2 separate regions of the Homo sapiens genome follow, and region 1 is linked to region 2. The links are contacts of gene promoters, found by promoter capture Hi-C in blood cells and fetal thymus (Javierre and others, 2016). All regions are on one chromosome and are shown on one strand. Each heading gives the region's core, a stretch centred on a gene start or on the middle of the fragment in contact. The rest is flanking DNA. Distances are from core to core; before and after follow the strand shown. Region 1 holds the start of KLRC1 (killer cell lectin like receptor C1). Region 2 holds the start of PRB4 (proline rich protein BstNI subfamily 4).

Region 1 (4,888 bases), core at 2,095-4,594, 860 kb after region 2:
ATGTCCTCTACAGCAACATGGACAGAGCTGGAGGCCATAATCCTAAGCAAATTAATGCAGGAACAGAAAACCAACTACTGAAGGTTCTCACTTATAAGTGGGAGCTAAACACTGAGCACCCTTAGACGTAAATATGGGAACAAAAGACACTGCAGACTACTAGAGGGGAGAGGAGAGCAGGGAAGAATGGTTCAGAAAACTACCTACTTTGGATTATACTCACTATTCTGGTATAATATACCCATGTAACAAACCAGCACATGTACTCCCTGTATCTAAAAATAAAAGTTGAAAGAAAAAAAATTGGAAAAATTCTCAAGGACAGTTGACTGGCCAAAGATTTTTTGAGTAATACCCCACAATCACAGGAAACCAAAGCAAAAATGGACAAACGAGATCACATTAAGCTAAAAAATAAACAAAACCCCCCCACGAGATTCTCTTATCTTAGACTTTTGACAATTTGATTATATTATGCCTCATAATAGTCTTTTCTGGGCTGATCTTGCTCATGATTCATTGAGCTTCATGAATCTGGATTTCCATATCCTTCCCAAGTGAGGAAGGTTTTCAGACAGTATGTCTTTAAAGAAAAAATATTTTTGACTTTTTATGTCTCTCTTCTCCTTCTGAAGTTTCTATACTTTCTATACCATATTCTTGGTGGTGTCTCAAAGGTCTCATGCTTTCTTTGCCACTTTTTATTCTTTTTTTACTCTAATTTGTTAATTTTAAAAGACTCTTTTTTTGAGTTCACTAATTCCTCTGCATGATTGAGTCGGGCATTAAAACTCTCTATTGACTTATTTATTTCTTTCATTGTGTTCTTCAGCTCCAGAATTTTTGTTTGGTTCTTTTTAATAGTTTATATTTCTTTATTAAATTTTTATTTTGTTCATGTATTTTTTGTTTTAGTTGTATTTTTTGTTTACTCTTTTCTTTTGCATCTCACTGAGATTTTTTAAGATGATTGTTTTGAATTACTTTAAAGGAAACTTATAGATCTCCATTTATTTGGATCAGTTGCTAAAGCTTTATTAGTTTCCTTTGGTGGTGTCATATTTGTCTGATGCTTTGTTATTTGTTTATCCTTGTACTGATGTCTGTGCATTTGAAAGAGCAGACTCTCTTTCAGTCTTTACAGACTGGTTTCGGTAGGTTAAAAGCTTCTCCTGTTAGTGTCCTGGGCTGATGAGATTGCCTTCAGTATCATGGTTGAATGGGGTTACAGCCAGATCACATGGTTGCTTACGGGTCCAGAGTGGGATCTTTGGTTCATGATCCTTTTACTAGGGCTTCTAGCAGGCTTGTATCCTATTTAGTGCCTCAGAGGGCCAAACTGGCTCTAGAATCATACTGTATAGGGCTGGGGAGGGGATGAGGGTCCACTTCAAGGTCTGTAAATGGTGGGTCTATTATTAGGTGTGTAGTTGGGGAAGAGTTTATCTAGTTTGCTGGGAAGGCTGCTCATGGGTCTCTGAGTGGGTTCCTCAACCTGTGGCACAGAGGAGTTAGTGCTAAGTCACAAGGTTTCCTCGGGGTCTATAGCTGAAACCAGTGTCTTCATGTCTGTCTCTGGGGTCATGGTTGAGTGTGTTTTCTGGCAGGTCTGTGGGCAGGCAGATTTGCCTCAGACTGTAGTTGAGTTGGGCTGGAGCTGGATCCAGAATTGTTTCAAGATCTGAAATAAAACTAAGGTCTGTGCCTGCAGGGGCACTAATGATGTCTCTCTCCAGGTCCCTGTATGGGCAAACTGCTCTCTAGCATAGCTGAGAAGTGTCGAAGCCCCTTTTCTGTCCAATTAAAGGATCTGCTGTGAAACCTAGGTCAATGGTCTCCTAGTTGGGACATGGATGCACATGTCCTCCCTCTGTATCCCTGAGCTGGCAAGACTGCTCACAGTCCACAGCTGAGAAGGGTGAAGGTCAAGATTCAAGGCTGTTTCAGAAACTACCGTGGAACTGAAGTCAGCAAGCCTGTACTGCTGACAAAGATGATTGAGTCTCACAGCAATTTCCTGTGATTAACTCAGGTCACAGTTGAGAGGAGTTTGAGTGGAGATTCAGGGCCATTTTAGTATCTTCTGTAGGACAGAGGTCAGCAAGCATGCCCCAGAGGTACAGATGTATATGTCTCCCAGGAAGTCTCTGTGGGTGAAGGACTGATCTCAAGTTGTGGCTGACACTAGTTAAAGCCAAGTTAGAGGGCTGTTTCAGGGTCTACATTGAGACTACAGTTGATATGCCTACCTCCTGAGACACTAGTGTGTGAGTCTCCTCCTGGGCCCCTGGGCAAATGGTTTTGGCAGCATGACCAAGGCCTAAATGGGGCTGAAGGCAAGCACAGGAGGATGGGTCCCTTTTCAGGTCTGGAGATGGAATCACTGTTGGTAAGTCTGCCACTTGGATGCAAATCTATTCCCTAAAACAACCTTCCTAGGTCTTGGGTTCCACTGGCATTTTACAAACTCCTACTTGAATTCCAAACTCCCTCAAAGGAACTTTTGTCTGTGGATGGCTGAAAAATTATTGTTGCTGTGGGGGCATATGTGTGGGGGACCACCTATTCTGCCAATTTACTGACTTTCCTCCTAGTAAGATTTTAAAATTACTTTTTCCCCATACATAGTTTGACTTCAGTTTTTGTCATTTACAACTAAATATTTCTATGAAAGTCGACATAATTTGTTATGGCGGAGGATGAATAAATGAAGAATGTAATGAATAGCTATTTAATATTTCAATTTCTGGTATGCTAATATATTTCAAAATTGATTAATATTTTACCTATCCAAGATATTTTTATCAAGGGTAATCTGAAGATTAAATAATCTATTTTTAAAAATTAAGTGCAAAAATTTAAGAACTAAGAGAAGTTAATAATATAACTTTGGCAATGATGCTTTTTGTGCCAGCTACAATCAATTGAGTAATTACTGCAGTAATTTTTCAGAATAATTAAGGAAAAAATCAGTAGATATCAGTTGATAATATTACTATGAGTTTTAGAATGTTTTCTATTATAATGGAAGTGACATAATAAAATAATATAAAGAAAAGAAGTATGCAATGTTAAGATTTAGCAACCTAGTCTAAAAGGCACTCTTAACAAGGTGAGGGTTGACAATGTTCGTGATCAAGACAGAAAAAAAAAAAATTCTCATAGGCACTTGAAAAATGAACCAACTAAATGACACACTTTCAAAGTCAACCTTGTACTTTTAATAGACCAAGTATCCTATATTTTGGAGGTGTGTGATGAGATAAAACTGATTTCACAATAGCCCATGTGTAGAATTTCCTGTTCAAACCTTAGTAACACGTTGATGAGAAATCTACTTTTTCCACTCTTGACTCACTCTGAGCCTTCACAGGGCAGTCTGCGAAGATTGCAGGCATTGTTTGTTCTTGTCTTGGATTTATGCCTTTAAATTTCACCTTTTATTACACAGCTATAGCAGGCCTTTTTATGAGACTAACCTGGCCTCTCCACTAAAGGATGTGTGACTTTCTGGGGACAGAAGGTATGTATTGCTACTCTCCAACTCTCTACTAGCCTACCTCATTTAGTGGGTGATTTCAAGTGCTCAATATGATACAAAGGAGGTATAATTAATATACAATAAAATCAAAGTAGAATATTGCTGTCTTCATTTGAATAACTCAGGGTAAAAACCTAAAATATGAAATATGTTGAAGGATTTCTTAAAGTTTTCAAATTATTGTTTGTGGAAATCTAGTGGGTTTGTTGATCAATATCGTTTAAGGGAAAGCTATTAACATCACAATAATGAACAATTAATTTTGTATTTTGTAATCAGTACATCATGTATCTTTGAATAATAATTTATATTTAGCTTAGCCATTAAAGATTATTAAAATAAATCAATCAATTGATGAAAGCCAAATACAATTCCTCAGACACGTAGATTAGAGAAAAGCAGTTTTTATTTTTAATAAAAATCAGAATGAGGTAGATTACATAAAATGCTAAAGGTATTACAAAGCAATAAAAATACTTTTTAAAAATTGATCAAAATATTGCAAAAAAAGATGTAGCGCATGGACATAGGAGACTTATCTGAAGATTTATTTTCCATGCTTTAACTGACATGAATCAGAAACAGTAACATAACAATTGTGACTAAAATAATAATTAAAGTAGCTAATGCTTATTGAGAACTTTAAGTGCCAGGTTGAGTGGTAAATGTTTTACATGCAACGTTTTATATGTTCTTATGCCCATTTTAGATTAACAAACTGGGTTATTAAAAATAGAATAACTTTTTAAAGGTCGCACATTATAAGTGTCAAAGCTAGAATTAATTCTAGATCTCACTGACTCCAGAGCCCATTGACTAAATGATTTAATTACATTATCTGAAATTTTACAAGTACTTATACAACTAAAGTGGCCTTTACTCACTTTGACAACCATAAAATCATTCTATAAGTTTAAATGAAATGTGCTTTAACATGAATTACCTATACTTTTATTTATCATTTTTTGGTTCATAATTTAGCCAGGAAATAAATTACCAATTACTAATTAAATTACCAATACTTCTGTAAGTATTAACAATTTATGTAGTGTTCCTAATACTATTTAGGTTATGCATAAGTTAACTGTGTCACATAGCATTTTCTGTCATATACAAATATTTAATTTTTTATAATTTTTAATAAATAATTTTTAATAATTTCTTAGAACATTTCAGCCATTAAGAAAAGACCATTTAATTACCTCTATTGATTTTCATTAATGTGTATAAATTACTAATTAAAAGTAATGTAGTGCAAGAAATTTTTATATATATATATGTCAACTTTACTATTACTCATGTGCAGACCACATAGTCTTAACCATTACTGGATTTCAAAATTAACAT
Region 2 (4,622 bases), core at 578-3,077:
TGGTGACAATATCAGGCAATGTCAGCCTGGCCTCTGCTGCTCCTTTTCTCTGACATTCCTTTGTTACCTGATGGTCTAACTTAAGCCACCTAAGCAGGATTGCTCATCTCCAGTTGTATTCCCATTTCAAGTACGTGTATATTTTTGTCAGGGAAAATACCAATCTTCGTGGTTCCCTTGCAAGGGCAAAGTTATCTGTAGCAAAGCCTTTTTTATTAGGAAGTCTGCTTGTACTATTACCTGCAACTCTTCAGAAGGGCCACCCAGATTCTCATCTGCAAAGCCCAGGATCTACTCATCCACAATGTTCAAGAGGCCTGTCTTTAGGATTTACTGTCACATACCCTCTCTACCTCCATCATACCTCCAACCAAGGTGTTCTCAAATTAATACCAGCCATGCACAAAATGTGAACAATTACACAAGACACATGGAAGGTCTAAGTGGTAAATGGCAGCTGTTGATACTGAGTAACCTGTATATTCCATGAACTGATAAGCAGGTATTTATCAGATATAACGAAGAATCAGTAGCTGAAAGAAGTGCTAACAATGCAGGTCTCTGATAGGGCTTTTTGGAAACACAACACGTATTATGAAATTACACAGACAAGAATGAAACAAAGATGGTAAGTACTATATCCTAATACTTAGAAGATTAAATAAAGGAAATCTCACCAAATTCATGGGGAAAAAAGCCAGATACATAAAGAAAAATACACATAATGGGCTTGACTCAGAAAATAAAATATGAACAAAGAAGAACCAGAAAGAAGGTGGGGAGGAATGCATATCAGAATATTATAGAAAAATACTCTTTGTGGAAGAACAATCTGAGAAAACAGGTAACACAAATACTGACTAAACCAAGAATACCAATATAATGCAATTTAGGCTTTAACGAGGGTATCTGATTATCCTATTTGAATGTAGAATTGTAGCCACTTAATTATAAGTGGTAGGAATTCAATACAATTATTAAAAGAAATGAAGCAGAGGGTGAATATTATAGAATATTCTGGACAAAGGGAAGAGCATGAAGGAAGTTTTGGCAACATGATATCGCATGGCTCCCGCAAGGAATTATGTATTCAGTTTTCTCAGATCTAGAAATTTCCTTATGGTTTCTGTGTACATTTTGCATTAATAACCCCTAAAGGTACTTTAAAATACACAATTTTGGCCTTCCTGTGTGGCACAACAACAAGCCTTGCCTGAGCTGAGTCAGATCCACAGAAGCTTGAACAATAGTTGTAGCCCGAGCAGGCTGTGGGGCAGCTTTCTGTCATCTATGTGTGCCCAGGAGTGTGTTGTCTTCACACCATCACACAGGTAACAGAAACCATCTCTATCGCATCAAAACTTTAGCCAATTGTGATACTATCTGTACACACACATCACAAGAGATGGAAATAGGCTCTATAAAGAGCCAGAGAAATTGACCATCTTCACTGCTGGCTGTAGCTTCACTGCCCCCACAAATATTACACAGAAATAAATAGTAGAGTGGAAAGCAGACATAGTCTTACCAAAAGGATTGAAACTCTAATGATGTCTGAAGTTCAATTATGACACAGTGCTGATAGCTTGGACACAGTTCCTTTAGAACCTTTATTCAAGTCATAGTCGTACCTTTTAGAAATAAGGCACAAACAACATCCAACCCACCCCATCCCTCTGGGCTAGAGTCCCAAAGAGAAATAAGGGATACACCTGACCTGCAGTAAGGAAAGCAGAACCCAGTCTCTGAGGTGGTGAGGCCCACCCAGGGCTCAAAGGTGCCATTGTTTTGCTCCTCTTTATAAAGGGAGTTGCCACGTTCCTCCCAGCACAGAGTTGGGAGTGACTCCAGAGCCTCCAGCGAGATGCTGCTGATTCTGCTGTCAGTGGCCCTGCTGGCCCTGAGCTCAGCTGAGAGTTCAAGTGAAGGTAAAACAGAAGGGGGAAAAGATGCGGTGACTGCTTGGGACTTAGGAGGTGACAGTGGTAATTATGGGGAAGAGAGGAGAATGAAAACACAGATGGGGCTGCAGAGTTTTCATGCCTAGGATCAGGAGACCTGTTGTGCCCTCATTCCACAATAAGGACTTCTAATTTATTTAATGTACAATGAAATCCAATAACGAATTTGTTCCAGGGGAATGAGAAGGTAAGATTTGAATTTATAGAGATAGAACTGTGCTGTGAAGGCTGCAGTGGAGAGTGCAAGGCAGATTCAGGGAAGTCCAGCTGTGAAGATCCTATACTGATCCCAGTAAGTACACAGGGATGATGGTGGCCTTGCTGTACAGACAGTCGGCATTGATGATAGAGATACATACACATCAGAGATACTGCAGAGACAGAACTGGATAGAACACTTGTCTCTGTCTAACTAAAGATGTAGAAATATCAGAGCCAATCATTACAATTTTTCTCTCCCCTACATGCAGTATTTCAATGTGCTGGGAGTGGAATGGGTTAGATTGTATTGAAATGATTACTTCTGGTTACCCCTATTGAGAAAACATGTGTATGTATGCAATATATTAACAGGAGATGGAGGGCATAAGAACACCAAAATATCACATTGAAGTACCTGGCATGCATAAACTAAATAAGCATTAAGTCTTGAGGGATGCTAGGGAGGAAAAAAAGGGGCTGTTCTATGTTGAACTCATTGCTGTTGCTCTGTGTGGTAACAACCCTGCCTCCTCTTACACCTTCCACCCCTTCCAGCACCTTCACAGATGGTGGCTGATGAGTTAACCTAGGGGATGCATGGGGTGTGGTGAGAAGACAATTTTCCCTGTAGAACACTTGTGAGTCTTGAAGATTTGAGATGTAACATTTCCCATCATCCTGTGCTTCTCTTCTAGATGTCAGCCAGGAAGAATCTCTCTTCCTAATATCAGGTAAATCCCAATTCATTCTCAATCTGTTTTGACTCCCTTTTTCTGCTTACAAATGGATCATTTCTCCAGTGTCTTCTTATCAACACTTTCCTTTCAGGAATTGATTAATGTTATTGCCCCTAATGATATAGGCAATCTTCATGCAAACTTGATTCTGGGGACCATGAGCAGGCCACCAAATGGAATGTCAGAGATGCTTGGCTTAGATGACAACAGGAGTGGGTTGACATCCCCCTGGCCAGGAGTGCCTCCTGGGAGATGACAGACAAATGGCCAGTGTCCTTATTCTGACTCCTCCTTAGACTGAGAGCCCCTCAACTTCTCCCTTTTCCCCCAGCGTTCCACTCCAGAGTTCTAGGGCTTCACTGAAAATGCAAAGAAATTAGTATCTGGGTCTCATTTTTGTGCATTTCCCCATTTAGCTCCATTACTGTAAAAATTTGTGGCAACTATTCAGTGAATGCCGTATGTCCCCCACCTCCTCCAGGAAAGCCAGAAGGACGACGCCCACAAGGAGGAAACCAGCCCCAACGTCCCCCACCTCCTCCAGGAAAGCCACAAGGACCACCCCCACAAGGAGGAAACCAGTCCCAAGGTCCCCCACCTCCTCCAGGAAAGCCAGAAGGACGACCCCCACAAGGAGGCAACCAGTCCCAAGGTCCCCCACCTCATCCAGGAAAGCCAGAAAGACCACCCCCACAAGGAGGAAACCAGTCCCAAGGTACCCCACCTCCTCCAGGAAAGCCAGAAAGACCACCCCCACAAGGAGGCAACCAGTCCCACCGTCCCCCACCTCCTCCAGGAAAGCCAGAAAGACCACCCCCACAAGGAGGTAACCAGTCCCAAGGTCCCCCACCTCATCCAGGAAAGCCAGAAGGACCACCCCCACAGGAAGGAAACAAGTCCCGAAGTGCCCGATCTCCTCCAGGAAAGCCACAAGGACCACCCCAACAAGAAGGCAACAAGCCTCAAGGTCCCCCACCTCCTGGAAAGCCACAAGGCCCACCCCCAGCAGGAGGCAATCCCCAGCAGCCTCAGGCACCTCCTGCTGGAAAGCCCCAGGGGCCACCTCCACCTCCTCAAGGGGGCAGGCCACCCAGACCTGCCCAGGGACAACAGCCTCCCCAGTAATCTAGGATTCAATGACAGGTATGATTCCACTTTATTATTCATCAGGACTCTAATTGCTACAGTTCTCCAACTTTATTGTGCCAATGAATCAACTAAAACCCATTGACATTGTATTGTCCTAGAACCCATTTCTAAAAATTTGTATTCAGATACTCTGGAATAGGGTAAGGGGACCCTGTATTTCTAACAAAATCTTTAAGGAATTCTGATGTTGAGAAACAACATACCATATGATCTGTCTTAAATTGTGTTGGCAATGAGGAGGTAGTACCATGTTCATTCTTGGCGTTCTGTTTTCTATCCACTAACTCAGAGACCTCCCATTTAAAGTTTTCACCTGAGCACCATTTGCTCAGTCCTGCCTCACACCAGCCTCTCGAGTCCAGTATTCCTGCCAAATGGTCCCTGATCTTTCAGCAGCTAAATGGCGTGTCACTTTTTAGATACTTAACTTTTCAATACGTACATGATTAAGCTAACAAAAAATATCTAATGGAATGGAAAAATATGAAGCTAATTTTAAAGGCATAACACATCCTACCCACCTTCCTTCCTTCAAAAAGCTCCCACTGTTAACCTTATGGGATCTTTTCTTTGA

Evidence for each region. Contacts are between HindIII fragments. The CHiCAGO score rates a contact against its expected background, and 5 or more counts as called.
Region 1: the fragment with the promoter of KLRC1 here is called in contact with the fragment with the promoter of PRB4 in region 2 in 9 of 17 cell types (M1 macrophages, M0 macrophages, erythroblasts and 6 more); the score reaches 9.3 in M1 macrophages.

The regions. Positions count from the first base shown.
Region 1 is chr12:10,451,833-10,456,720 of GRCh38, reverse strand. KLRC1 (killer cell lectin like receptor C1) reads left to right here and starts at 3,344. Exons shown (of 7, transcript NM_002259.5): 1 at 3,344-3,523. The HindIII fragment of the contact is 4,540 bases long and covers 1,169-4,888 here.
Region 2 is chr12:11,307,641-11,312,262 of GRCh38, reverse strand. It overlaps PRB4 (proline rich protein BstNI subfamily 4), which reads left to right and starts at 1,827. Exons shown (of 4, transcript NM_002723.6): 1 at 1,827-1,928; 2 at 2,858-2,893; 3 at 3,381-4,042. The coding sequence starts at 1,865. The coding sequence ends at 4,024. The HindIII fragment of the contact is 5,809 bases long and covers 1,241-4,622 here.